5 separate regions of the Homo sapiens genome follow, and regions 1, 2, 3 and 4 are each linked to region 5. Evidence: promoter capture Hi-C in 16 types of primary human blood cells and fetal thymus (Javierre and others, 2016). All regions are on one chromosome and are shown on one strand. The core of a region is centred on a gene start or on the middle of the fragment in contact, and the rest is flanking DNA. Distances in the headings are between cores, read along the strand shown.

Region 1 (4,972 bases), core at 2,129-4,628, 540 kb after region 5:
AAAAGCTCTCTGAACCTCTTCTGATTCTTAGAGTTGCCTGACGCCTGAATCATTTTTTGCTCATGTAAATTCTTTTAAATTTAATTTGCCTGAAGTTTTTCTTTTAACATATGCCTGAATATGATTCTTGATCATTTTTAAAGCCCCAAGTTTTAATTTGCAATGGTAGTATATCACAGTGGTCAGGAATATATAGACTTTGAAGGCAAAACGTCTGAGTTTATATCCAGGTTTTGCTGTTATAGTAGTGTGACCTTGCGCAAGTCATTACTTAACTTCTCTATGCCTCAGTTTTCTCATAATAATGGCACCTACATTAAAGGGTCATTATAATCCCATTACTAGTGGATATATGCAAAGTAGTTAGAAAAGTAGTAGGTACTTTATAAAGTCACCTGCTATTTTATTGTTGTTGTTAGTTTTTGTTATTTTATTTATTTTCATAATTTCATTTTTAACTTCTTTCTCTCCAAAGCACGAGCTAAAGATCTTTGTTGGCCTATGTTCAATGCCCACGTCTTCAGGACGGTTGGAGCTTCATCTTTATGGCTTACATTTTATGTTACTGATTCACACTTTCACTTCTGGGTGATTTTTCCTTATTGGTGTTCCTAGTGCCTTTGTTTTATTATTGTGAATGTGGTGTCATCTCCGGAAGACCAGATTGTGTTCAGCCTGCACACCATTTATCTCTTTAGCTTCTTTACTTCCCTCTTCTTCAGAATCTGACAGGTAAATTCTAATAGGAAAGCTTCAAACCCATAGAGATGGCTCTACATGAAGTGTTACTCATCAATCCCTCTGGTATTTTTTCACTGAAGCTTCGCTCATGGAGGTCTCCTGGTTTACAACACCTTCCTGTATTTCAGAAGCCTCTATGGCACAAAAGAGTTATGCATTGTCTTAGACAGAAAATAATTGTTTGATCAATCAGATCTTTGTGGATGAGCAACCTTTGATTTTTTCCTTTGGGCCTATTTTCCATTTTCCTTGAAGTTCACAGAAAACCAATCACCATCTCTTTGCTCTTGTATACCCTGGCTGCATTGTTTATCATTCCTGTTCTTCTTGTCAGACTTCATGGCAAGCTTAGTCTTCAATTTACAATCTTGTCCTTCTGTTTCTCTCAAAAAATGTTCCTAATGCCTCCTTTCTTCCTTTCTTCTAACTTTTTCAACTTTCTCCCATTTGCTATTAGCAGCCAGAGGTAAACCCAGTCACCCTATAACAGAGTGGACTCTGCAGTGAAAGGGGCTCACCCTGGATGTTTCTCTTCTCCAGGAATTCCACCTTGTGGCTTACTTTGTAAACGGTCATGGTGGCTGCTCCTTTATTTTGTTTTTCATTTTTGAATAGTCACACTGTGTTGAGCCGTTCCTTACCTCTATCCCTGCCACCCCGTCTCTTAGAGGATTCCTGCACAAGCTGTCTGTGCCATTTTCCTCAGTGTCACCTGCCCGTGGCTGCCGTGTCTTGAAAGCCCATGGCTACTTCCCTTTCCCATCCTGCTCACACTCAGAAGGCTGGGATTGGAGCTTTGATTCTTGCTTAAACTCTTCATTGCTCATCACTTTGATCCTGCCTTTGCGTATTTCTTCTTTTTGGTCTTTGATTTTGCTATTTCTGCTCAAATTTCTGCTTTTTTTTTTTTTTCCTATTTAAGAACTCCATTAAATGATTCCACAGCTGGAAATATCTATTTACTTCCCCAAAGATGGTGGCTTTATACTTTCCCTTGAAAGCCCCCCACCTCTCTCTTTCAAGTGTTCATTTTTCTCTGAAATTTTTGGAAGTGAGAATGGGCAGTCTTCATTTTTCTTAGCATAGTTTAAATTTGTTCTTTTATTTATTTATTTATTTATTTATTTAGAAGCAGTTTTGCTCTTGTTGCCTAGACTGGTGTGCAGTGGTGCGATCTCAGCTCATTGCAACCTCCGTCTCCCGGGTTCAAGTGATTCTCCTGCCTCAGCCTCCCAAGTAGCTGGGATTACAGGCATGCGCCACCATGCCTGGCTAATTTTGTATTTTTAGTAGAGATGGGGTTTCTCCATGTTGGTCAATCTGGTCTCGAACTCCCGACCTCAGGTGATCTGCCCACCTCAGCCTCCCAAAATGCTGGGATTACAGGCATGAGCCACCGCACCTGGCCTTGTTCTTGTTTTAACAGGAATCTGTTCTTCCTCCAAGTACTTCTGTCAATTTTGTGTCTGGGAAATTTAATGTAGCCTTTACTGAAGCATGACTAAAATAGGTACTATTATTCATTAACTCCACCACTCTGACCATAAATCCAGTCTAGTCTATTTCTCCACTTTTCTTGGTCAGCGAATGTTGCTGTAAGGACACTCCTCTAGTAGCTCATTCTCACAAGGCATGTTAGAAACCCACTGGCAACACCAGTCTTCTTGCTTTGTGTAGAATCTATTCTATGCATCATAAAAACTATTATTAAAATGATTTTTCAGGCAAAAATAATATTTAGTAGAATTTTCTGTGTTAGGCACTGTGCTAAGTATTTTCTAACATCAGCTTTGTTTTATACTTATAAAATACCTTATGAGGCAGGTAAAAAATAGTAGAACAATTTTATGGCTTTCTTTTTTTATAGGTAGAGATTTTATAGGTAGAAACTAAGGGTTGACAAGAGTATGATCCATTCAGTGGTAGAACCAGAATTCTAATGCATGTCTTCCAGTTTCCACGGTGCCACATGACACATCGTTTACCTTAACCTTTTTCATCATTAAAAAAGTCATGAAATATTTTAAGTATAATGAAAAGTAAATAACATAATCAGCATAATTGATTAAATTTCAACATTTTACCATATTTCTTTCAGAATTATTTTTATTATTAATAATAGTAGCAATATATTACATAAGTTAAATATTATCATAGATGCAGTTGAAGAGCTACATGGACTCCAGTTCAGTTTCATTATACTGAATTTGGTGTGTTATCATTCTTAGCTAATGTTCAGTGTTGTGCTGAGAAAGCGTTGATGTTTATTAGTTGATTTTGTTTGTGTTTTTTTCGTTTGTTTTGCTTTATGTTATTAAGAATTGTGTTTCTTTAATTAGTGTACTATTTCTTTCTGTGGTATTAGTAGATGGTTGAGGTCAGGGAGTACATGTAGAGGTAAAGCACCTGTCTATTCCATAGAGAACTAGATATGGGAGCTGGTTCTGAAGTTCCCAGAAGCTGAAGAAGAGTTTGTATTTTACAACGGCTGCTCAAGTCATTCTTCACTTAACTTTGGTGATTCGATTATTTTGAACAGTGGAATAAACTGAGCAATTCATTTTTGTTCAGTATGAGTAACTCTTGCTTATCTATGTAACCTTCTTTCACAAACAAAATGTCATTGTTAACTTGGCTTTTGTTTTTCTGACTTGTGAGTCAACTACAAAGTGGCATTAACAGAGACGTTGATACTGTATTTCCAGCTGTAAAACTGGGTTTTAGGAGAAATGGAGTAAAAAACGTGTATTATTAGAATGCCAAAGGCAACAGTTAACCAGGACTATCCCTAGATGCCTTACTAACTAAGTACTAGATATTTATATTTCTAAAAGCAAAGTTCTGATGGAAAGCTCTACCAACTTAGGGATTGCATAACTTATGAGGAATATTGGGAACTTCAATAAAAGGAAGAAAAGTTCACAAAACTAGCATTATAATGAGAAGTCGATAAATAGTATCTTTTAAAATAATAACTCTATAATTATTGTATGTTTACTTGGATTAAGCACAATGGAAACTACTTTAAATATATTTCCTTGTGTAATACTCATAATTACCCTATTACATATTCTTAGTCTCATTTTTTTAAATAAGGAAACCGGGGCTTAGAGAGCTTAAGCAATTTATGTAAAGTTACCCAGTTATTAAGTGAACAGGCAAAAATCTGTTTAAATTCTCTTAAATATCATCCTGGAGATTGACCTTTCTTCCAGCAAAGCCTGTCAGATCCTAGTATTTAATGTACTAAAGTAATCAGGCAAAGTAGGAAAAAATTAAATCAGAAAAGGAAAGATTTGTCCATTCCTTGTGTTTCTGCAGGAAACTCTACGTATTAGCCATCATGTCTAGCTTATACTGGATTTTCAATTATTTGACCTTTTGTCTGTTTCATTATCGCATCACTGGTTATTTTTGTCTTGTACGGCACCCAGTGTATATAGCATCAAGTACTAATAAAAGGAACTTCCAAATACAACACTTTTCCCTCTGGCTTAGTGGTGTCCAAGATTTATGAAACTACAATAACTTTATTTATTGCACAACATAACTCTCCCCAAAGGAGTTCTGCAATTTTCATTGTGTTTTTCCAGTTAAAGATAAGAGTAATTGGAAAATTAGTACTGTTTCAGAGATCGTCATTATGGTCTTAGGATATAGAAGACAACAAATGTAGTTAGATTCCCTGTTAACATAGTTTCTGCTACATAATAAGTCATCAATACATGTTATAGAATATTATTATTTGTCTTTAGTAAAATAAATCATAACAAGCATATACATACAAAAATGTAAGAATGAGATATATGGAATGAAAAATGCATAATGATAACTTTTAATAGGCAGCTGCTCTATCATGACAAAAAATACACAGGAAAGACATGAACTAGCTTTTGAGTTTATGATAAAAAATTTAGGCTAAAAAGCTATTTAATGTTTGGAAAATGAAATTTCTAATAGAAATTTTATTAGCCAGGCTCTAATTTATTTCTGTTCTAAAAGATAACCATGGATTAAATGAAATAAGAGTCTCTGCTTTCCTAAGAACTTACATTACATGAAAACATTGCCTCAGTCTCAGTCCCTGCTAACAGTAATTTTCATAGTACTTCCCAATAATTTTTACATAGACTATTTTAGCCTTTAGAAAAATGCTCTAATAAAATAGCTGCAGCAATTTGCAGACAGGGAAGCTGAGAAGAAGAGGTTAAGTAAGTTACACAACCATGTG
Region 2 (5,003 bases), core at 377-2,876, 580 kb after region 5:
ATGTACAGATGAATTTTCCACTTTGCCAGATCCTGGGACTGGAGTTAGTGAGCAGCTGCTCTGCTGAAACTCCATATAGCTTTGTGTATTGGACCCAAAGCCCTGGTGGCATGGGCTCGGAAGGAGATCTCCTGATTTGCAGGTTGCAAAGATCCATGAGAGAAGCATGGTTCCCCAGATGAGATCGCACAATCACTCACCGCTTCCCTTGGCTGTGGGGGGAAGGTTCCTTTGGCTCCGTATTGCTTCTGGATGGGCTGTTGCCCCACCCCCACTCCCTGCCTTTCTTTGTTCTCTGTGGGTCAATTTGTTTGCCTAGTCAGTCCCAATGCAAGAATCTGGATATTTCAGTTGAAAGTGCTGAAATCATTTGCCCCTTTTCATTCCTCCTCGTGAGTGCCGTGGACTGCAGCTGCTTCCAATCAGCCATCTTGCCTCCCTTCGTTAATTTTTTAATGACATTTAGAAACATACTATTCTGGGGTTCTACTGCAATAAGGGAAACTGTAATGAAAAGACAGCAGAATATGTTAATAGGCTCCTAGACATTGGACCAATGTTTTTTCTTAAAGTTAAATTCTCTGTGCAATACTCCATTCAGCTTCTGCTGAGGAAACTCATTGTGATAATGCTGGGATTCTGGAGGATAAAGTTGACGTATCTGTTATGATAAACCAACACACCTTGCAGCTATTCATTGGCTGTGCTTAGAACTAAATTTATTTCTCAATCATTTGGTGAGTTTAAAATGCAGAGTCTCCAGTTTTTATCTGCTCTGAACAGCACAGCATACTGCTCCAGTAAGCATAATGGATGGAAATTAGGCTCGGAATTCTGGCTGGAGTTTTTTCCATGTGAGGAAAGTAGACACAAATAAATCACCCTTTCTGCATAATGCCTTCACAGTAAACCAAAGGATGCCATGAGAGGAGATGATGGCCACAGCTCAGTAGCCTCTACAGATAGCTCTGGTAAGTAGAAAAAGTATGATCTAAGACCTGATGTTGCTGCTATTAATTGTAGACTTAAAGGGTCTGGACTTTTGGTGGCTGCAGGGAGTGAAGTGTATCGTCACTTCTTCTGAGCCCTGCCCTTGACTGACTCAGTCACTTTCTTGGGCTCAACTTTTCCATTTGAACCACAAATTGGGAGTAAATTTTGCCTTCCTAAAATGTTAGTCCCTAGTAAGAAATCTACTTTTGTAAAAATCAAGGCAAGAGTTCTGAGAGGATGAATCTCAAAACAGAGCCAGTAAAACTGAGCATTTTCCTATAAAGCTAATGTAAAAAAACTTGGAAGGCGGTACTATGAAAAAAAGTGAAATAAGTAAAACCAATGAAAAATTACAATCCTTGTGAAGCTTCTGAAATTTAGTTCAAACAGCCTTTTTATAAATACAATATATGTAAACATTATATAAATAAAACTCAATGTTGTTATGCACTTTTCAAAGTATATCCACAGTTACTGTCTCATTTGAACTTCACAATAAGCACTGTGGGCAGATATAATTCTCTTGGTTTTGCTTTTATAAAAACTGAAAGTCAGGAAGATAAAATGATTGGCACAATGTCACAGGATGTGTTAGTAGTACCACCTCGCACAATGCCTGACAGATAGAAAGCACTGGGTAAATATTTATTGAGTGAATGAACATATGAATGAAGGGGCCTGATTCCTAGTTTACTGTTTATTTCTAATACAATGTGTCATGAACTCCTGATACCTTCTGCTATATTATTGGTATTAATTGGGGACATCCTTTGTAAAGAAAGTTACAAACTTTCAGTGAATTATCTTTCTATTTTTCTTTGCCAGGGACACTTTTAAATAATTCTGCCTTTGTATATCTCTGTATCCTCCTTTCTTCACTCATTATCAGAATAAGCTTTTATAAGGTCCTAGGAGTGAGGATATAAGTGAAAGTATCAGAGTTAAATCCGCTTCTTCCTATAGCTTGATATTGAGAAAAGAAAGCAAAGATTTAAATTTTCAGGACCAAGTGGTTTGTTCAGTTAAGTTGCTTCTAATTCATATACTTTGACCACGAGACCATCTTTCTTTGTGTAGGTTCCTAAAAAGCTGAATCCTGCAGTGAATGCCATATACAGGCTCTCTCTCAGCAGGAGTTCATGGGGAAACCAAAAACCAGAGCATTAGAAGAATTTGAAGCCTGTGGTACATATAACTACAGCAAATATTAAGCACAGCCTTACGTTTAGCCCTATTACCATAAATCATCACTCAGGGGCCAGTTATCTCAATTCTCAGTAATTCTCAGTATCTCAGACATGCCTAGTTTTTAACAACAAAAAAGAAAAACAAATACAAAGCATGTCTGAAGGCAAGAAGAAACAAAGTCTGAGAGATAAAGCAAGCATCAGAACCAGACTCAGATACAACAAAGAGTCAGAATTATCACATTGGATATTTAAGATAACTATAATTAATATATTAAGAGCTATAATGGAAAAAGTAGACAATATGCAAGAAAAGATGTGTTTTGTAAGCAGAGACATGAATATGCCAAAAAAGAATTTAAAAATTAATGTTAAAAGTCAGACACACTATAACATAAAGAACAATGTCTTTGATGGGCTCATTAGTAGACTGGACAAAGCTGAGGAAAGAAAATCAGTGACCTTGAAGATAGGTCAATACAACTTCCCAAACTGATTTGCAAAGGGAAAACATAATGAAAAAAAATGGTATTAAACAACTGTGAGAAAATGTCAAAAGATATAACTAACATACAGGTATTTATTTTTAACATACAGGTATTTAGAAAACCAGAAGGACAAGAAAGAAAGAACAATAAAGCAGGGGAAATAACTTAAACAATGTCTGAAAAATTTCCAAGCTTAATTGCTAACAATAAACCACAGGTTTAGGAAGCTCAGAGAACATCAAGAAGAAAAAAAAAATAGCCAAAAAACCCACCACATAACTCCAGGAATATCATTTGAAACTGCAGAAAGTCAAAGGCAGAAAAACATCTTGAAGGAAACCAGGAGTAAGGGTGGAAAGATGGGGTTGGAAAACACTCCCTACCTGTAGAGGAACAAGGAAATACAGAGAGATTCTCAGCAGAAACTATACTAGCAATAAGAGTAACATGAAATCTTCAATGTGTTGAAAGGAAAAAAATGCCAGCATAGAATACTATACCTAGAAAATGATTCTTCAAAAGTGACAAAGAAATAAAGACTTACAAAGATAAAAAACAAAAAAACTGTAGAAATTTATTGTTAGCAGACTTTCCCTGCAATAAATGTTAAAAATAAAAAAGTTCTCCAGGGAGAATAAAAATGAAACCCAGAATGAAAACTCAGATCTACATAAAGAAAGCAAGATTTTCAGAGAAAGAATAAATGAAGGTAAAATAAATTAGTTTATGTTTCTTATTCTAAATTTATTTGAAGACAATTGTTTGTTTAAAGTGATACTAGTAAGAATTTACTGGAAGATTACAGCATATGGACAATATAAAGACTAAGGTTAAAAGTGAAGAGATGGAGAAAATCACATAATGATAACGCTAATCAAAAGAAATCTGGAATAGTTATATTAATTTCAGATGAAGCCAACTTCATAACTAGAAAAACTATCAAGAATGAGAGGCATTTTATACTTATAAAGGGTCAATTATCCAAGAAGATGAACTTAAAAGTTTTACGATGTTTGTATTTAAAAACAGAGCATTAAAATATTTGAAGCAAAAAAAAAATCCCACAAAAAAACAAATAGAATTGACAGGAGAAATAGACAAATCCACTATATAGTTGAAGACTTCAACATTTCTTATTCCATTAACTGATAGATAAGCAAGCAGAAAACCAGTAAGAATATGGTTGGCCTAAATAGCACTATCAATCAACTTGGTCTAATTGACATTTATAGAAATCTCCATAAATAATAGGAACCACACCTTCTCAAGTACACATAGAACATTAATCTAGATAGACCGTACTCTGGGCTAAATCATAAAATATGATGTGACATATTAAAAAACAGAAATCATAGGAAATATGCTCTTAGACCACGATGTAATTAAACTAAAAATTGTTAGCTGCAAGATAGCTGGGAAATCTACAAATATTTGGAAATTTAACAAAAATACTTTAAAATTATGCATGGGTCAAAGAAGTCTCAAGAACAATTTAAAGATATTTTGTACTAAATGAAAATGCAACATACCAAAATCTGTGGAATGCAGAAAAAACAGCTTTTAGAGGAAAATATATAGTCTTAAATGCATACTAGAAGAAATCCAAATAGTATGAAACTAGAGAAGGAGCAATTCAATCCTTAGCAAGATAAAGAATAGGTATAATAACAACTAGAGTAAAAATAATGAAATTGAAAACAGGAAATCAATATAGAAAATCAATGAATCCCAAAGCTGATTCTTTCAAAATATCAATAACATTGATCAACCTCTACCTGAAATGAAAGATGGGACATCACTACTAATCCTGCAAGTATTACAAGGGTAATAATGAAATTTTAGAAACAACTTTATGCACACAAATTTAATGATTTAGATTAAATGGACCAATTTCTTGAATGACTCAATGTATCAAAACTCACACAAGAAGAAACAGGTAATGTAAATGGGTCCATAGCCACTAGAAATATTGAGTCAATTACTAATAACTCTCTGACATAGAAAAAAACAAAATTATTCTAAAACTAAAGCTCTGGTAATTCTGACAATGTTTAACCAAAAAATGATATCAATTCTCAACAATCTCTGCCATGTTAGAGGCAGAGAAAATACTTCCTAACTTATTATATGAGGTCAGTATTACCCTAATATGAAAATGAATGAAGACATTATCAGAAAAGAAAACCACATGCCAATGTCAGTTAATATAGATGCAAAAATTCTCAACAAAATATTAGCAAATTAGATCCAACAATGTATAAAAAGAATTATATATAGGCCATAACAAATGGAATTCATTCAAAGTGTACAAGACTGGTTCAGCATTTGAAAAAGA
Region 3 (4,582 bases), core at 1,660-4,159, 520 kb after region 5:
CCCTGTGCTGTGTGCAGCCCAGAGTCTTGGTGCCCTGTGTCCCAGCCACTCTAGCTATGGCTGAAATGGCCCAATGTAGAGCTTGGATTGTGGCTTCACAGGGTGCAAGCCCCAAGCCTAGGAAGCTTCCACATGGTGTTGAGCCTGTGAGTGTGCAGAAGTCAATAATTGGGGTTTAGGAACCTTTGCCTAGGTTTCAGAGCATGTATGGAAATGCCTGGAAGCCCAGGCAAGTTTGCTGCAGGGGTGGTGTTCTCATGGAAAACCTGTGCTAGGGCAGTGTGGAAGGGAAATGTGGGATTGGAGCCTCCTCACAGATTCCCTACTGGGGCACTGCCTAGGGGAGCTGTGAGAAGAGGGCCACTGTACTCCAGACCCCAGAACGGTAGATCCAGTGACAGCTTGCACCATATGCCTGGAAAGCCACAGACATGCAGCACCAGCTTGTGAAAGCAGCAAGGAGGGGGGTTATATCCTGCAAAGCCACAGGGGCAGAGCTGCCCAAGGCCCTGGGAGCCTACCTCTTATATCAGTGTGACCTGGATGTGAGACATGGAGTTGAAGGAGATAATTTTGGAGCTTTAAGATTTGACTGCCCTGCTGGGTTTCAGACTTGCATAGGGCCTGTAACCCCTTTGTTTTGGCCAATTTCTCCCATTTGGCGTGGGTGTATTTACCCAATGCCTGTACTTCCATTGTATCTAGGAAGTAACTAACTTGCTTTTGATTTTGCAGGCTCATAGGCAGAAGGGACTTGCCTTGTCTTGGAAGAGACTTTAGATTGTGGACTTTTGAGTTCATGCTGAAATGAGTTAAGATTTTTGGGGACTGTTGGGAAGTCACGATTGGTTTTGAAATGTGAGGACATGAGATTTGGGAGGGGCCAGGGGCAGAATGATATGGTTTGGCCGTGTCCCCACTCAAATCTCATCTTGAATTCCCACGTGTTGTGGGAGGTACCTGGTGGGAGGTAATTGAATCATGGGGTCAGGTCTTTCCTGGGCTGTTCTCATGATAGTGAATAAGTCTCATGAGATCTGATGGTTATATAAGGGGGAGTTTTCCTGCACAAGCTCTCTTCTGTTGTCTGCTGCCATGTGAGACGAGCATTTCACCTTCTGCCATGATCGTGAGCTTCCCCAGCCACATGGAACTGTAAGTCCAATTAAACCTCTTTCTTTTGTAAGTTGCACAGTCTCAGGTATGTCTTTATCAGCAGCATGAAAATGGGCTAATACATCCCATAACCTGATTTTATAATATTTGCATCACCTCAAAAGAGTTACCTGTGTTCACTTGCAGTTAATTAATGTCCTTACTCCTGACTCAAATACTTGTATGCTCCCACCCTTCTAGTTTTGTGTTTGCTACAAATTTCATAAAAATAAAATCATACAACATACAGTACATTGTGTCTGCTTTCTTTAATTTAGGATTTTAAAAAATATTTATCCATGTTGCATGTATCAGGATTTTATTTCTTTATGTTTCTCAATAGCATTTCACTGTATGCATATATTGCAAATTGTTTATGCATTCACCAGTTTGACACTGGGGTTATTTCCAGGCTTTGGCTATTATAAATAAAGTTTCTGGAACATTCATGAATAAGAATACGTGTAGACATACGATTTAATTTCTCTTGCATGATACAGGAGTGCAATGGCTGGGTTATATGATAAGTGTGTGTTTAACTGTGTAAGAAACTGCCAAATTGTTTCCCAAATTCTCTGTATCATTTCACATCTCCATCCACAGTGTAAGCAAGATCTTGCTTTTGAGGTTATTCCGTTTTGTTTGTTTTCATTTGAAGCTCCACAGGCATCTGATGAACAGCTGTGTATGTCAGTTTGAAGCCAGTTGATTAGGTTATTTAACTGTTAACTAAAATTTTGTGGGATAAGTGTAACCACTGATATAAAAATTCTTCTTCCTCTTTCTGTCTTTTTTACAAAACATAACTGAGAAATTTTACAATCAATTCTAACAGTCTTTTTTAAAACCTTTTATTTTAAGTTTAAGGGTACATATGCAGGTTTGTTGTATAGGTAAACCCATATCATGGAGGTTTAATGTATATATTTTTTCATCACCCGGGTATTAAGACTAGTACCAATTAGTTATTTTTCTTGATCTTCCCCCTCCTCCCACCCTCCACTCTCAGGTAGGTTCCGGTGTCTGTTTTTCCCCTGTATGTGTCCATGAGTTCTTATCATTTAGTTCTCACTTACAAGGGAGTACATATGGTATTTGGTTTTCTGTTCCTGCATTAGTTTGCTAAGGGTAATGGCCTCTAGCTCCATCCATGTTCCTGCAGAGGGCACAATTTTGTTATTTTTTATGACTGCATAGTGTTCCATGGTGTATATATGGCACATTTTCTTTATCCAATCTACCATTGATAGGCATTTAGGTTAATTCCATGTCTTTGCTATTGTGAACAGTGTTGCAATGAACATATGCATGCATGTGTCTTTATGGTAGAATAATTTATATTCCTTTGGGCATATACCCAGTTATGTGATTGCTGGGTTGAATGGTAGATCTGCTTTTTAGCTCTTTGAGGAATCACCACACTGCTTTCCTCAATGGTTGAACTAATTTACACCCCCACTAACAGTGTATAAGCATTTTTTTTTTCTACAACCTCCCTAGCATCTGTTACTTTTTGACTTTTTAATAACAGCCATTCTGACTGGTGTGAGATATTATTTCATTTTGGTTTTGGTTTGCATTTCTCTAATGATCAGTGATGTTGAGCTCTTTTTCATATGTTGCTTGGCCACATGTATATCTTCTTTTGAAAACTTTCTGTTCATGTCTTTTGCCAACTTTTTAATGGGGTTGTTTCCTTGTAAATTTGTTTAAGTTCGTTATAGATGCTGAATGTTAGATCTTTGTTGGATGCATAGTTTGAAAAATGTTTCTTCCATTCTGTAGGTTGTCTGTTTACTCTTCTTTTGCTGTGTGGAAGCTCTTTCGTTTAATTAGAGCCCCTCTGCCAATTTTGCTTTTGTTGTAATTGCTTTTGGCACCTGTATCGTGAAATCTTTGCCAGTTTCTATGTCTAGAATGGTATTGTCTAGGTTGTCTTCCAAGGTTTTTATAGCTTTGAGTTTTATATTTAAGTCTTTAATTCATCTTGTTTATGTTTGTATATGGTGTAAAGAAGGGGTCAAATTTCAGTCTTCTGAATATGGCTAGCCAGTTATCCCAGCACCATTTATTAAATAGGAAGCCTTTCCCCATTGCTTGCTTTTGTCATCTTTGCTGAAGATTGGATGGTTGTAGATGTGCAGCCTTATTTCTGGGCTCTCTATTCTGTTCCATTGGTCTATATGTCTGTTTTCGTACCAGTACCTTGCTGTTTTGGTTACTGTAGCCATGTAGAATAGTTTGAAATCAGATAATGTGATGCCTCCAGATTTGTTCTTTTTGCTTAGAAGTGCCTTGGCTATGTAGGCTCTTTTTTGGTTCCATATGAATTTTAAAATATTGTTTTTCTAATTCAGTGAAGAATGCCACTGGTAGTTTGATAAGGATAGTATTAAATTTATAAATTGCTTTGGGCAGTATGGCCATTTTAAATATATTGAGTCTTCCTATCCATCAGCATAAAATATTTTCCCATTTGTTTATGTCATTTATTTTAGGACTTTCTTAGTTCCCATTGTAGAGATCTTTCACCTCCTTGTTTAGTTATATTCCTAGATATTTTATTCTCTTTGTGGCTATAGTTTATGTGATTGTGTTCTTGATTTGGCTTTCAGCTTGGACATTGTTGGTGTATAGAAATGCTACTGATTTTTGTACATTGATTTTTGTATCCTGAGACTTTGCTTATTAAGTTGTTTATCAGCTTAAGGAGTTTTTGGATCAACACTATGGGGTTTTGTAGATATAGAATCATGTCATCTTCAAACAGGGTTAGTTTGACTTTCTCTCTTCCTATTTGGATGCCCTTTATTTCTTCCTTTTGCCTAATTGCTCTGGCCAGGACTTCCAATACTATGTTGAATACGAGTGGTGAGAGTGAGCAGCCTTATCTTGTTCTGGTTTTCGAGGGGAATACTTCAAGTTTTTTCCCATTCAGAATGATGTTGGCTATGGGTTTGTCATAGGCGGCTCTTATTATTTTGATGTGTGTTCCTTCAATACCCAGTTTATTGAAAGTTTTTAACATGAAAGGATATTGAATTTTATCAAAAGCCTTTTCTGCATCTGTTGAGATAATCATGTAGTTTTTGTCTTTAGTTCTGTTAATGTGACAAATCACATTTATTGATTTGCTTATGTTGAACCAACCTTGGATTCCAGGGATAAAACCAACTCGATCATGGTGGAGTAGTTTTTTCATGTGCTGCTGGATTCAGTTTGGTAGTATATTGTAGAGGATTTTTGCATCGATGTTCATCAAGGATATTGGCTTGACATTTTCTTTTTTATGTTGTGTCTCTGCCAGATTTTGGTATCTGGCCTTATAGAATAAGTTAGGGAGAGTCCCTCCTTCTCAATTTTTTGAAATAGTTTCATTAGGAAACTACCAGATCATCTTTGTACCTCTGATAGAATTTGGCTGTGA
Region 4 (5,131 bases), core at 389-2,888, 560 kb after region 5:
TTACAATATTTTGTTAAAATTTTTTCAAGTTTAGACATGTTTGAAAATTGATGATTTAAATAATTTAGACCTACTAGAGAAGCGGAAATTGAGTCCTAGAGTGAGCTGGGTGGGAACCCCAGTGTGCATCATGTATGGGCTAGGACCCTGGTCCAGCCCTCTAGTATCCTGTCTGCCTTCAGTCTTTAGTCTCCAGTTCTTTCCTCCCTTAACTACTGGGTGAATGAAGCCCTTGTCATAGTCTGAGCCATCTATAAGTAAGAGAAACAACCCCCAGACCTACATGCATTTGTTTCATTGGAGAACCAGTGTGTTTCAAAATTAAACCTTCACCTAGTTAGGTATTTAGGGACTAGGGATGCCATTAGAAGAAATAGGATCCACTCTATGACTCTGGGATGGGACAGGATTCATGAGATTTATGGCCATGAAGGCCTTTGAGGATAACTTCTATGGTTATAAATTAGGTATAGGAGTATAATATGCATTCCTCCGGAAAAAGCTAAGAGCAGAGAAATAGAAAAGGAGAGTGATAATCTTACCTAAATTCTAATCCTAGGATAGCTGCTGCAGTTGAGCACAAAATCTGGCTGTGAGTTTCCTGGCAGTCAAATGGCTTCACAACCCTCTTAAAACTTCTTCTTTATGGGGAGACCAGGGACTCAGAGAGAGCTAAGTGTTGAGCTCAGGAGAGTCTCACCTGAGATAGGTTCATCTGTGGACTCCTCTTACAGATGATAGACAGGGAAGCCTTAGATGTCATACGACACTTGGGGATGTGGTGTGGTATTTAAGTGTGGGTGTACGTATGTGTAAATGTGTGTCCACTTATTTGAATCATCGTATTTACACCTGTGCAAATTTGTGGTGGTTTAAAATATCTCCACTGATCATACAGTGCCTATCTGTAGATGCCCCAGGAATATTCAACCAGCATTAACCCTGTAGGAGAAAATACTTTACTAATGCCAACTTCTAGGAAGATGACAAGTATAATTTCCAGTTGTCATTCTTGCCCTAGGGGGCTTGAACAGAATATATTAATGAGGGCCAGGCTGCCTCGGGCTCTTCATGAGGCTACTTCTTAATCATTTAGCCATCTGATCACACCACCTCCCAGCCTTGACCCACAGCAGAAATTTAGAGCTCTTAGGAAAAAGGCAGGCAGTATAAGATGGTGAAGATTGTATGGCATGCATCTTCCTTTCAAACATGACATTAGAATGAGATATCCTGACTGCCCTTTAGTTTCACAGTGGCCCATTGGGAGCCCTAAGGATCTGATTGTAAGGTAAACACCAGAAAGTGATACGTACATAAGCAATGTGTTCTCTAGACTTCTCTGTACCCAAAATTATTAGTTGACACCATTAGCATTAGTAGTGTCTTTCCTTCTTCCCTTTGATAAAACAAGAACACAATTGTAACCCTAATGGGCCATCTTTGAAGAACAGAAGCTTATGTTTCTGATCAATATACCAGCAAGCCCACTTGACAAAAGGGTTAGGATGGTATTAGAAACTAATCTTTAAAAAAATGTCCATGCTTATGTTAAACAGTGCTAGCATCTTTCTCTAGTATCCTTTTTGCATTAAAAAATAATGCTTAGTGAGCTTTTACAAGGTGCTCAGTGCTGGGCCAAGCACCCCCATGTCTGATCTCATTTAATCCTCTCAACAGCCATATGAAGCAAGTACTATTATTAGATCTGGTTTATAAGTGAAGAAACTGGGGTTTAGAGAATAATTTGTTCAAGGTGACTTAACCAGTAGTGGAGAGATACCGACTTAGTGCAGTTTGATGGCAGAACCAAGCTTCTCAACCATCCTGCTGTACTCACTCTTATGAAGATATCAGAGGATAGCAGAGAGAAGACTGTTTCTATTTCTTTGTCTCTGGGGTGCTCTGTGACCCACTGCTAGTCTTCACACCTACAGATAATTCTTATTAGAATTTGAAATAAAAATTGTAGCAGCCTTTTAATGTTTACCTGTCTATCCCAAGCAGCCTTCTAAGGAAATCAAACTTGTCACTTCTTGACTTCATTTCACACTATGCATTCATGCCTAGGACATCAGAGATCTTAGTGTCTCTGAGGAAGGACAAACCTTGAGCAATCAAGGTCCTTTACAACAGGTCCTCAGTAACTTTGTCTCATTCTATCTCAGCTTTCATTCAGCATGTGCCATCCCAGGCACCATAGACTAGAGTTATTGAAGGTCACTCTGTTTGCATAGTGTCTCTGATCAGATCATATCTGCTTATTCCCTTTGCCTGAAAAAAATTATTTTCCTTCCTCATCTGTGGAACTTCAATTTGTCTGTCCTTGAAAGAGTATCCTAAGTGCTACCGCTGATGTAAATTCATCCTGATCCCTCAGGCAGAATAAATCTCTTCTCTGTGATGCTAGAATGCTTTGAAATGCTCTCCATTATGAATCTGTATTAGTCAGGGTCCTCCAGAGAATCATAACCAATGGAATGTGCATAGCTGTAGAGATCTATGGATCTATATACACATCCTCTATCTATCTATCATCGATCTATCATCTATCATCCTCTATATCTGTCATCTATTTATCAATCATCTACCTATAATATCTATCATCTCTCTATATTTGTCACCTATCAATCTTCTATCTATCACTATCTATCATTTATCTTTCTCTATATCTATCCCCTATCTATCATCTGTCTATATCTGTCATCTATCTATCTATCATCCATCTATATCTGTCATCTATTTATCAATCATATGCCTATAATATCTATCATCTGTCTATATTTGTCACCTATCAATCATCTATCTATCACTATCATTTATCTTTCTCTACATCTATCACCTATCTATCATCTGTCTATATCTGTCATCTATCTATCTATCAATCATCTATGTATTGAGAGATTTATTTTAAGGAATTCTCTCATGCAATTGTAGGGGCTGGCAAGGCTGAATTCTGAAGGACAGGCCTGCAGGCTGGAGACCCTGGAAAGAGTTAATGTTGTACCTTGAATCTAAATGCAGTCTGGAGGCACAATTCCTTCTACTCAAAAGACCTTTTGAGGTCTTTTCTCTTAAGGCCTACAACTGGTTGGACAAGGCACATTCACATTATGAAGGATCACCTGCCTCACTCAAAAGCTACTAATTTAAATGTTAATAATATCTAAATAATACATTTACAGCAATATTTAGACTGGTGTTTAACCAAAAATGATACCATAGCCTAGCCAAGCTGACACATAAAATTAACCATTACACACTGTTAGATTTTTCTGCAACTACTTGTTTGTGTCTCCCAGCTCCTCTAGAATATGAACTGCTTGTGGGCAGTGATCCTCACATTTTAGTCTCATTGTGATCATAATAAACATCACTTCCTTTCACATATAAAACTGTGAGCACTGCATCTACTGTCAAAAAAATGTGTTTCAAGAGCAACATGCTCAGTGCATAAGGCAGGCAGCAGGGAGGAAACTAGAAATGACTCAGCTATAGTCTTTGACAGCAGTGAACTGATTTTGCAGTGGATGAATAAGCCCCTGGCTTCAAATATGAGAATAGGTTTCCTCGAATCAGGTCCAATGCCTCTCTTTGGCCAGTCGACTGCCCCGAAGCAGGCTGGGTGCATCCTGTCATTCCAGGGCCCAGGAACCAAATTCTGAGGGAGGGTAGCAGCTCTCCAACCTACTATCAACACCTGATGGGGTGCTCAGAATGCACCCCATCAGGTGGCTGATGGAAGCACTACAAGATGGTCTAATTCTACCTAGAACTTATATTAACTTCCTTTTTGACTGTTTCCCTCCCAGTTCCCTTGATGTTCCTTGGAGCCATGAGGGGCAAAGAGGTGGCCCCTTGCTGCCCACTAGGTGGTAGTGGAATCCCACCTCTGTCACACTCAGCACTTTCTGCTCTCTCAGCCACCAAAGTCTGATGACAAAACTTCTAATCTGCTGCTGGGAATTTCAGGTTAACTGACTAAGTCACTTTAATTTTCTTGGGAAAATAGTTGCAGTCACACAAAAGATAAGAAGAGGCTCCTGAGCCCCCGACACCTGCAGTGTGAGGGCAGCCCAGCCTTTCACAGCCCCAGTACAGAGAGAAACTTCTTCTCCTGCTGCCCAGCAGACACACATGCCCCCACCCGCAACCCCACAGTCAGGTCAAAGCTTGCTCCTGGCACAATCCGTGTTTACTTCCACGTCTCCAAACCTGGAAGGATGGCATACTTTGTACCTGCTGATGTCAGCCAATGACCTCTCAGCCTCTCTGCCTTCCTCGCCTGCTGCTGCAGGGAAGGCAGGTTGCAAGGGCAGAGCTGATCATAAATTCTAGTGATCTTCTGTAAGATCATTTGCAGCATCAGACTCTTTAATAGACTCTGCTTATTCCTGCGGTGTAGGCTCAAAAAATTTAAGTAGTAAAAATAAATAAAAATCTCATGTCAGTTAAACATAGAGATATGGGCTTTAAAAAAAATCTTTCCCCTCCTCCTTATGTTTTTTCTTCTATGAATGTATTTATGTAACCTCTGCAGCTAAGATTTTTGAAGGGCAAACTTTCCCTAGACAGGGACAATTTTTAGTTTTAGTTAATGCAGTGTACAGGATAAGCAATGGTGCCCTGTGCAGAGTTAGCGCCCATAAATGTCAGTTGATGCTGCCACTACCCTCTGGAAGTTTCATAGAAGAGCTCCTTTCTCTTTGTGACTTCAACGTCCTTCACCTACAGGATCTCATTTTCCACTTACTGTGATAACAAAGGGCCATGGATTATTATCTTCAATTTACAGGTAGGAACAATGTGTCAGGGAAAGATGATCTGCCCAAGAATAGAGAGCAAGTCAGTGATCAGCTGACCATTTCTCTGTTCTTGCAGCAGCCCTCAATGTCTCTTTCAGTGAAGTGCTAACCTGTCACCCCCAAACACTGTACTCATAGAAAGTAGCATCAGGATCTCTTGAAACAGACTGGAGGCCTGGACCATGCACCACCTGCTCTCTGCATGGCCGCTGTTCTCTCCTCTTGTCTCTTTTCACTGCTTCCTAGTCACCAACAGGGCAGATAATCAATGCAGTCTTCTGGTAGATCAATAGCCAACAATATTTCATTACTGCCGGAATCAGGTT
Region 5 (5,268 bases), core at 29-2,528:
GTCTGTCTCCTCACTACAATGCAAACTTGCTATCTTTCTAGTGCCTAGAACAGTGCCTGGCACAGGCAATTTATTAAACTAAAGTGAACCAATAGCATTACCTCTTCCTTACTTCCAAGTTAATGTGCAAAGGCAGAAGATGAGCAGTAAAATCTTGCTTTACTTACAATGTCATCTTAACTGCATTGCCAGCTTTATACAATGAAGGCTGATGATGATATGGCTCCAAATGACAGTTATTAGATTTTCAAGGATTTTCTAAGTTTGTATCTTTATTAAAAAGAGAAAGAAGCCAACTATGACAAATCTTAACTCCCACCTCCTACTCAAAGAAGATGGAATCTTTTAGGATAAAAGTCTTAGATTAAGCAGCCAAATACTGACTTCTCAAAAAAAATTGTAATAACTCCATTCATAGAAATGAGATTATGCTGTAACATTCTTACCATAGTCCTGAATATGTGAATAAAAGATGCTGTGTATTTTCACTTAGGACAGATGTAAGATTTTCATATTGTTTACATTTTCCCTAAATGAGAAATGTATGAACACTTCTGCCCTTTTATTCCTGCACCACGGACCATGAGTCAGGGCTGCTAAAAGTATCCTTATTTTAGAGATTGCCTAAAACCAGACTTATATGAAAAGGGGATTTTTAGCTTTACTTTTCAGAAATCCCAAGTCCATATCCAGTCAGCTCTCTTCCACAAAATTATTTTCTTTTCTTTAGAAAATATCACATTTCATATCAAGTTATTAGAGAGAAACGGGAAGCCTGAGCAGGTGACTGGGTGGTGGACGTCCTGTGTTTCTAAAGCAATCCCTTTCCCTCACCTGAGACCTTGCCTAGGTTAATGGGGGCTCCATTGAGAAAGTCAAGGAACATGAAGCATGAATATTTACATATTCAGCAGAGAGTAAATGCATCAGCAAATGATGAGGTGAGATACAGTGTTATCCCACTGAACTAGTTCCCTTTTGCTCATCTCCCTCCCTGTTACTCTCCAAGGCTGAGTTATATTCAGCTGAAGCACAATTTGAAGAATACGAAATAATGTGTGATTTGGTGCCACCACTGTCAATCAACAGTGCTTTCCACCTAGACTGCTGTGCCTGTGCCAGTGGCTGCTGTCCTGGTGCCAGGGGCAAGAGGAAGACTGCCTTTTTTCCAGCTTTCCCTGGCTTGACCACACCCCCCAATTTAAGGAGGCAGCTCTATTAGAAACATTATGGTCTTTGCATCCTCTTAAGCTACGGAGCAGAGGATTCCCGCAGGTAGTTGGAAAGAGACCACAGACTTTGAGGGAAGCTCACTCAGGATCTGCTCTCCGGCAAAGTAGTAAGTGAGGTGTGTGTCAGTTTCTGCCTAAAACTTTTCAGTCCATTTTCCTTTTCCTGCTTTAAAAAAATTTCTGTGGAATTAAAGAGTAAGTCGGTAGGGAGATTCAGGATACAAGTGAGTTTTCTCTTTCTCTTTTCACGTCTTTCTATATTCCCATTTAATTGTTTAACAATTTTCAAAAATACTTCCTAACCTCGTCAGAATAGTCTGAAAGCAAGACTATGTTTTTAAAAATGTTCCCTGCTTCACAAAAGTAAAACCATGCACGTTTTAGATACCCGTAGATTACTTGTCAGAAACCCTGATTTTTTTTTTTTTTTTTTGCAAATTGGAGCACTTCCAAAGAAATAAAGCTGTAGTTAAATATATAAATTTCTTTTTATTCTCTTTCACTCCTAGTAAATCTATTGTTTTACTTTTTTCTCCTGCTAGTAGTTTAATGAATTGCTTTTAATAGAGAGGAAATTGCTACAGGTTTGAATCTTGCTAGCCAAACTAGCCTGTTTGGTGTTTTTCTCTGTCTTGGGACTGACCTGCAGTTGTCCAAAGATCTACAAGTTCCTAAGTCTGTTGTTGAGACATGGTGTGGGTGTGGGCCGCGGTTGTCTCAGAGTTAGGGAGGTATTTCTTGTCCCCACGGTAGAGCTGGACTCAGTGGCAGGAGATGTCGATGGCAATTCCTCTGCATCCGGTGATTTTATCTGGCCGTGACACTTTGTATGTGACTCCTCACCCACCGTTAAAGGTCTCTGTTACCAACTTTTAAAGTAGTATTTTCTTCAGGCAAACTTAAAAGGGTGCTGGGTCACTGAAATCAATGCATTCTATTGCAGGATTTCTTTATCACCTTTTGGGTAAGTTTTTGTTTTTAATCTCAAGTCCATTTTCCTTCTTACTTTAGACCACTGCCATGCAACTGAGAAAAAAGTATTTGTTAAACAGCAGGAAATACCAATTCTAAAATGATAACTCCATCAGCTCCATTTGATTTGTAAAATTACTGATACTATAACTCTTTCATCAGTTGTGGTTTTGGGTTTGGTGGCCTATTTTTATCCAAAGAGAAAACGCTTTTTCTTCAGGGGCCGTGGGCTGTGCACAAGGGCTGCAGGGTGGCCACTGCTGCTGTTGAGAGTCTTGCTCACCTGTTGTTCCTGAATGGAGGGAAGGGAGAGCTAATGGGTTAATGTCTGCAAAGTGCTTTGAAGATGAAAAGGTCTTTTCATGTGTTCAGTAGTGCAGTTATTAATATTAATATTTGAAGAAGCATGCTGCTTCTAATTGTAAATCAACTACTTCCATCCTTGCCAACTCAATAGTGAAATAACAAACAGTTCAGGCATCCATGCAGCCTCTTCCGTCCTGGTTCCGCTGCTGAGGATGTGGGAAGCCAAGCCGAGAGCCTAATTATGGAGGGGGCATCTTTGCCCGGCAGGCTCCTTACACGGAGGTGCTAGTTGCTGGCTGTGAAAGGATGTCCTGAGGCAGAGCCTGGGGGAAGCTGGTAGAGGGGTGGGATCCTTTGGCATCTGGCAGTCTGTGGCCAGAGCACCGACTTGGGCCAGTGGCCGGTCCCGGACGATAATGGAGTTCAAAGGCAAGTGGGGTCAGAACTTGAACCAGCGCTGGGTCGGAGAAGGGAAAGTGGCTGTGCACTTGGATTATGTCAGTGATTAGCTTTGTAACAGAGAACAGGGATTGAACGTGTCTGTGCCTTCTTCCCTTCATCTCTAAAAGGTGAGCAATCATTTGCGCCCCGCCTGGTTTACAAATATGAGAGAATAGAAGTAAACAGCATAGGGCTATGAAAAATCAGAGTGCCAGTGAGGTCAAGGACTGTCTGAAGTAATACTTCAACAAACTGGGTGTGTGGGTGCAGGTCCTCTCACCTAGGGGAGGGTGAGGCAGAAGGCAAAACACTGCAAACAAATAATCAACAGATTTCTCTCTTTGATTGCACTGGTGAATTTCTTACTGATAACTGAGGTTCTGATGTACCTTGTGATTTTAATTATTGGTGAATAGATCTGTTTTCCATAGTGACTATCATTTTCTAATTACCAGTTCAAAATTCCCAACTGTTCACATCAAACAGCAGAAGGGAATGATTACGTCCCACGAGCTGGGACCCTTCCTTCCTTCCTTGCTTCCTTCCTTCCTTGCTTCCTTCCTTCCTTCTTCCCTCCCTTCCCTCCCTTTCTATCTTTCTTTTCTTTTCCTTCTTTCTTTCCTCCCTCCCTCCTTTCTTTTTCTTTCTTTCTTTCTTTCTTTCTTTCTTTCTTTCTTTCTTTCTTTCTTTCCTTCCTTCTTTCTTTCTTTCTTTCTCTTTCTTTCTTTCTTTCTTTCTTTCTTTCTTTTCTTTCTTTCTTCTTTCTTTCCTTCCTTCCTTCCTTTCTTTCTTTCCTTTCTTTCTTTCTCTTTCTTTCTTTCTTTCTTTCTTTCTTTCTTTCTTTCTTTCTTTTCTTTCTTTCTTCTTTCTTTCCTTTCTTTCCTTCCTTCCTTCCTTTCTTTCTTTCTTTCTTTCTTTCTTTCTTTCTTTCTTTCTTTCTTTCTTTTCTCTTTTTTCTTCCTCTTTCTTTCTTTTCTCTCCCCTCCTTTCTTCTTCTTCTCTCTCTCCCTCTTCCCTCCTCCTTCCCTTTCCTCCCTTTCTTTCTTCATTATGGAAATGATAAAGTATTTAGCATTTGAGCAAAATTAATGTGGTATGCAGCAATTTAGTGGCATTTCAGGCAAATCTTTTAAGTTTCTTCAATCCTGGGAAAAATTAGATGTGAAGACATAACTTACTTTTTGCTTCCTCATCTCCTTTATCCCTGCTGTACTGAAAGTATAGCTTATTGAACTCCACCTTTTAATGTAGATGATTTTCTAGTTATCATATCCATTCTTCTTCATTTCACCTAAGGAGGAATACTCAGCCCTAACGTTTACTGAGCACTTGGTATGTTCCAACATCCTTGCTAGGTGCTTTGCAGGGACTGCTTCATTTAATCTACAATGAAGTTTTGAGGTGGGCACTCCACTCTCGTCATCCCCATTTACCAGGTGGGGACTCTGAGGCTCAGTCATATGACCGTGTTAACTCATGGTGGACCCTGATTAGAGCCAATGGAATGTGAACCCAGAGCTTGTGATTGGAACTGCATGTCATAGGAATCTAAGTAACTCTAAGACATTTACACAAATTTAGGATAGATTTTTCTGCTTAGACTGATTTGCTTATCTAGGAGAACACTGGATTAAGCCTGTTTTCTGAAGTGGTATCTGTGGATTACTTATTCATTGTTATGAAGATACTGACTTTGAAGAAAGACTACCCAGGCCTAGTTTCCTGGGTAAGTAAGTCAGTCCCTTCCCTGACAAATATCAGTTTTATTTCTACTCCATGCCCAGCCTTGTGCTGGAGACCATACCAAACACAGAAGAAACAATATGTAAACTCCATTTTTAAAATTAACACAATAATCTTTACTAGAAAAGAGGATAAAAATGAAAGACAATATAATTATTAAGTAGTGTAGTATAACCTATACATGCTTTGGGAGTTCAGGTAGAAAAAAATGGTATCTAGAGCAGTGAGGGAAGGATGTTTCTGATCTGCCTTTTTTTCAAAAGAGGATAGATTTCATATTCCAGTAATCAAGTGTTGGAGCTGCCTTCAGAACTTAGAGGGAACAGGCTGGGTAGTACTTACTAGCATGAGAGTAAGCAACAAACATTTAGTGCAAATGTCAGGAAAATATTCTCAATGGGGAGGAAAAAATATATAAATTTTCAAGAGATGTGGAAAGGTAGAAAACTCCAGAATTTTGGTCTTTTTAGAGATTTAAAAGAGATTTAGTCTTTTTAGAGACTTAAAAAAAACTTTTCACTTTGAAATAATTCCAGATGCATAAAAGTTTGCAAAACAATGTACAAAAAGTTTC

What was found. Contacts are between HindIII fragments. The CHiCAGO score rates a contact against its expected background, and 5 or more counts as called.
Region 1: a contact is called between a fragment that was not itself captured here and the fragment with the promoter of ETS1 in region 5, in 8 of 17 cell types (activated CD4 T cells, non-activated CD4 T cells, naive CD8 T cells and 5 more). The highest score is 15.7, in activated CD4 T cells.
Region 2: a fragment that was not itself captured here is called in contact with the fragment with the promoter of ETS1 in region 5 in 3 of 17 cell types (total CD8 T cells, naive CD8 T cells and naive CD4 T cells); the score reaches 7.5 in total CD8 T cells.
Region 3: a contact is called between a fragment that was not itself captured here and the fragment with the promoter of ETS1 in region 5, in 6 of 17 cell types (activated CD4 T cells, non-activated CD4 T cells, total CD4 T cells and 3 more). The highest score is 12.9, in activated CD4 T cells.
Region 4: a fragment that was not itself captured here is called in contact with the fragment with the promoter of ETS1 in region 5 in 7 of 17 cell types (naive CD8 T cells, naive CD4 T cells, total CD8 T cells and 4 more); the score reaches 14.9 in naive CD8 T cells.

What each region holds. Positions count from the first base shown.
Region 1 is chr11:128,045,614-128,050,585 of GRCh38, reverse strand. No RefSeq gene overlaps it. Among named protein-coding and RNA genes, the nearest start is that of LINC02725, 48 kb to the left of the region's middle. The HindIII fragment of the contact is 4,575 bases long and covers 1,091-4,972 here.
Region 2 is chr11:128,001,605-128,006,607 of GRCh38, reverse strand. No RefSeq gene overlaps it. Among named protein-coding and RNA genes, the nearest start is that of LINC02725, 92 kb to the left of the region's middle. The HindIII fragment of the contact is 528 bases long and covers 1,363-1,890 here.
Region 3 is chr11:128,063,849-128,068,430 of GRCh38, reverse strand. No RefSeq gene overlaps it. Among named protein-coding and RNA genes, the nearest start is that of LINC02725, 30 kb to the left of the region's middle. The HindIII fragment of the contact is 5,563 bases long and covers 128-4,582 here.
Region 4 is chr11:128,020,581-128,025,711 of GRCh38, reverse strand. No RefSeq gene overlaps it. Among named protein-coding and RNA genes, the nearest start is that of LINC02725, 73 kb to the left of the region's middle. The HindIII fragment of the contact is 357 bases long and covers 1,460-1,816 here.
Region 5 is chr11:128,583,568-128,588,835 of GRCh38, reverse strand. ETS1 (ETS proto-oncogene 1, transcription factor) reads left to right here and starts at 1,278. Exons shown (of 10, transcript NM_001143820.2): 1 at 1,278-1,348. It overlaps LOC105369565 (a long non-coding RNA gene), which reads right to left. Exons shown (of 5, transcript XR_948163.3): 4 at 1,876-2,496. RefSeq lists a silencer at 1,119-1,325 and an enhancer at 5,004-5,268. The HindIII fragment of the contact is 9,036 bases long and covers 1-5,268 here.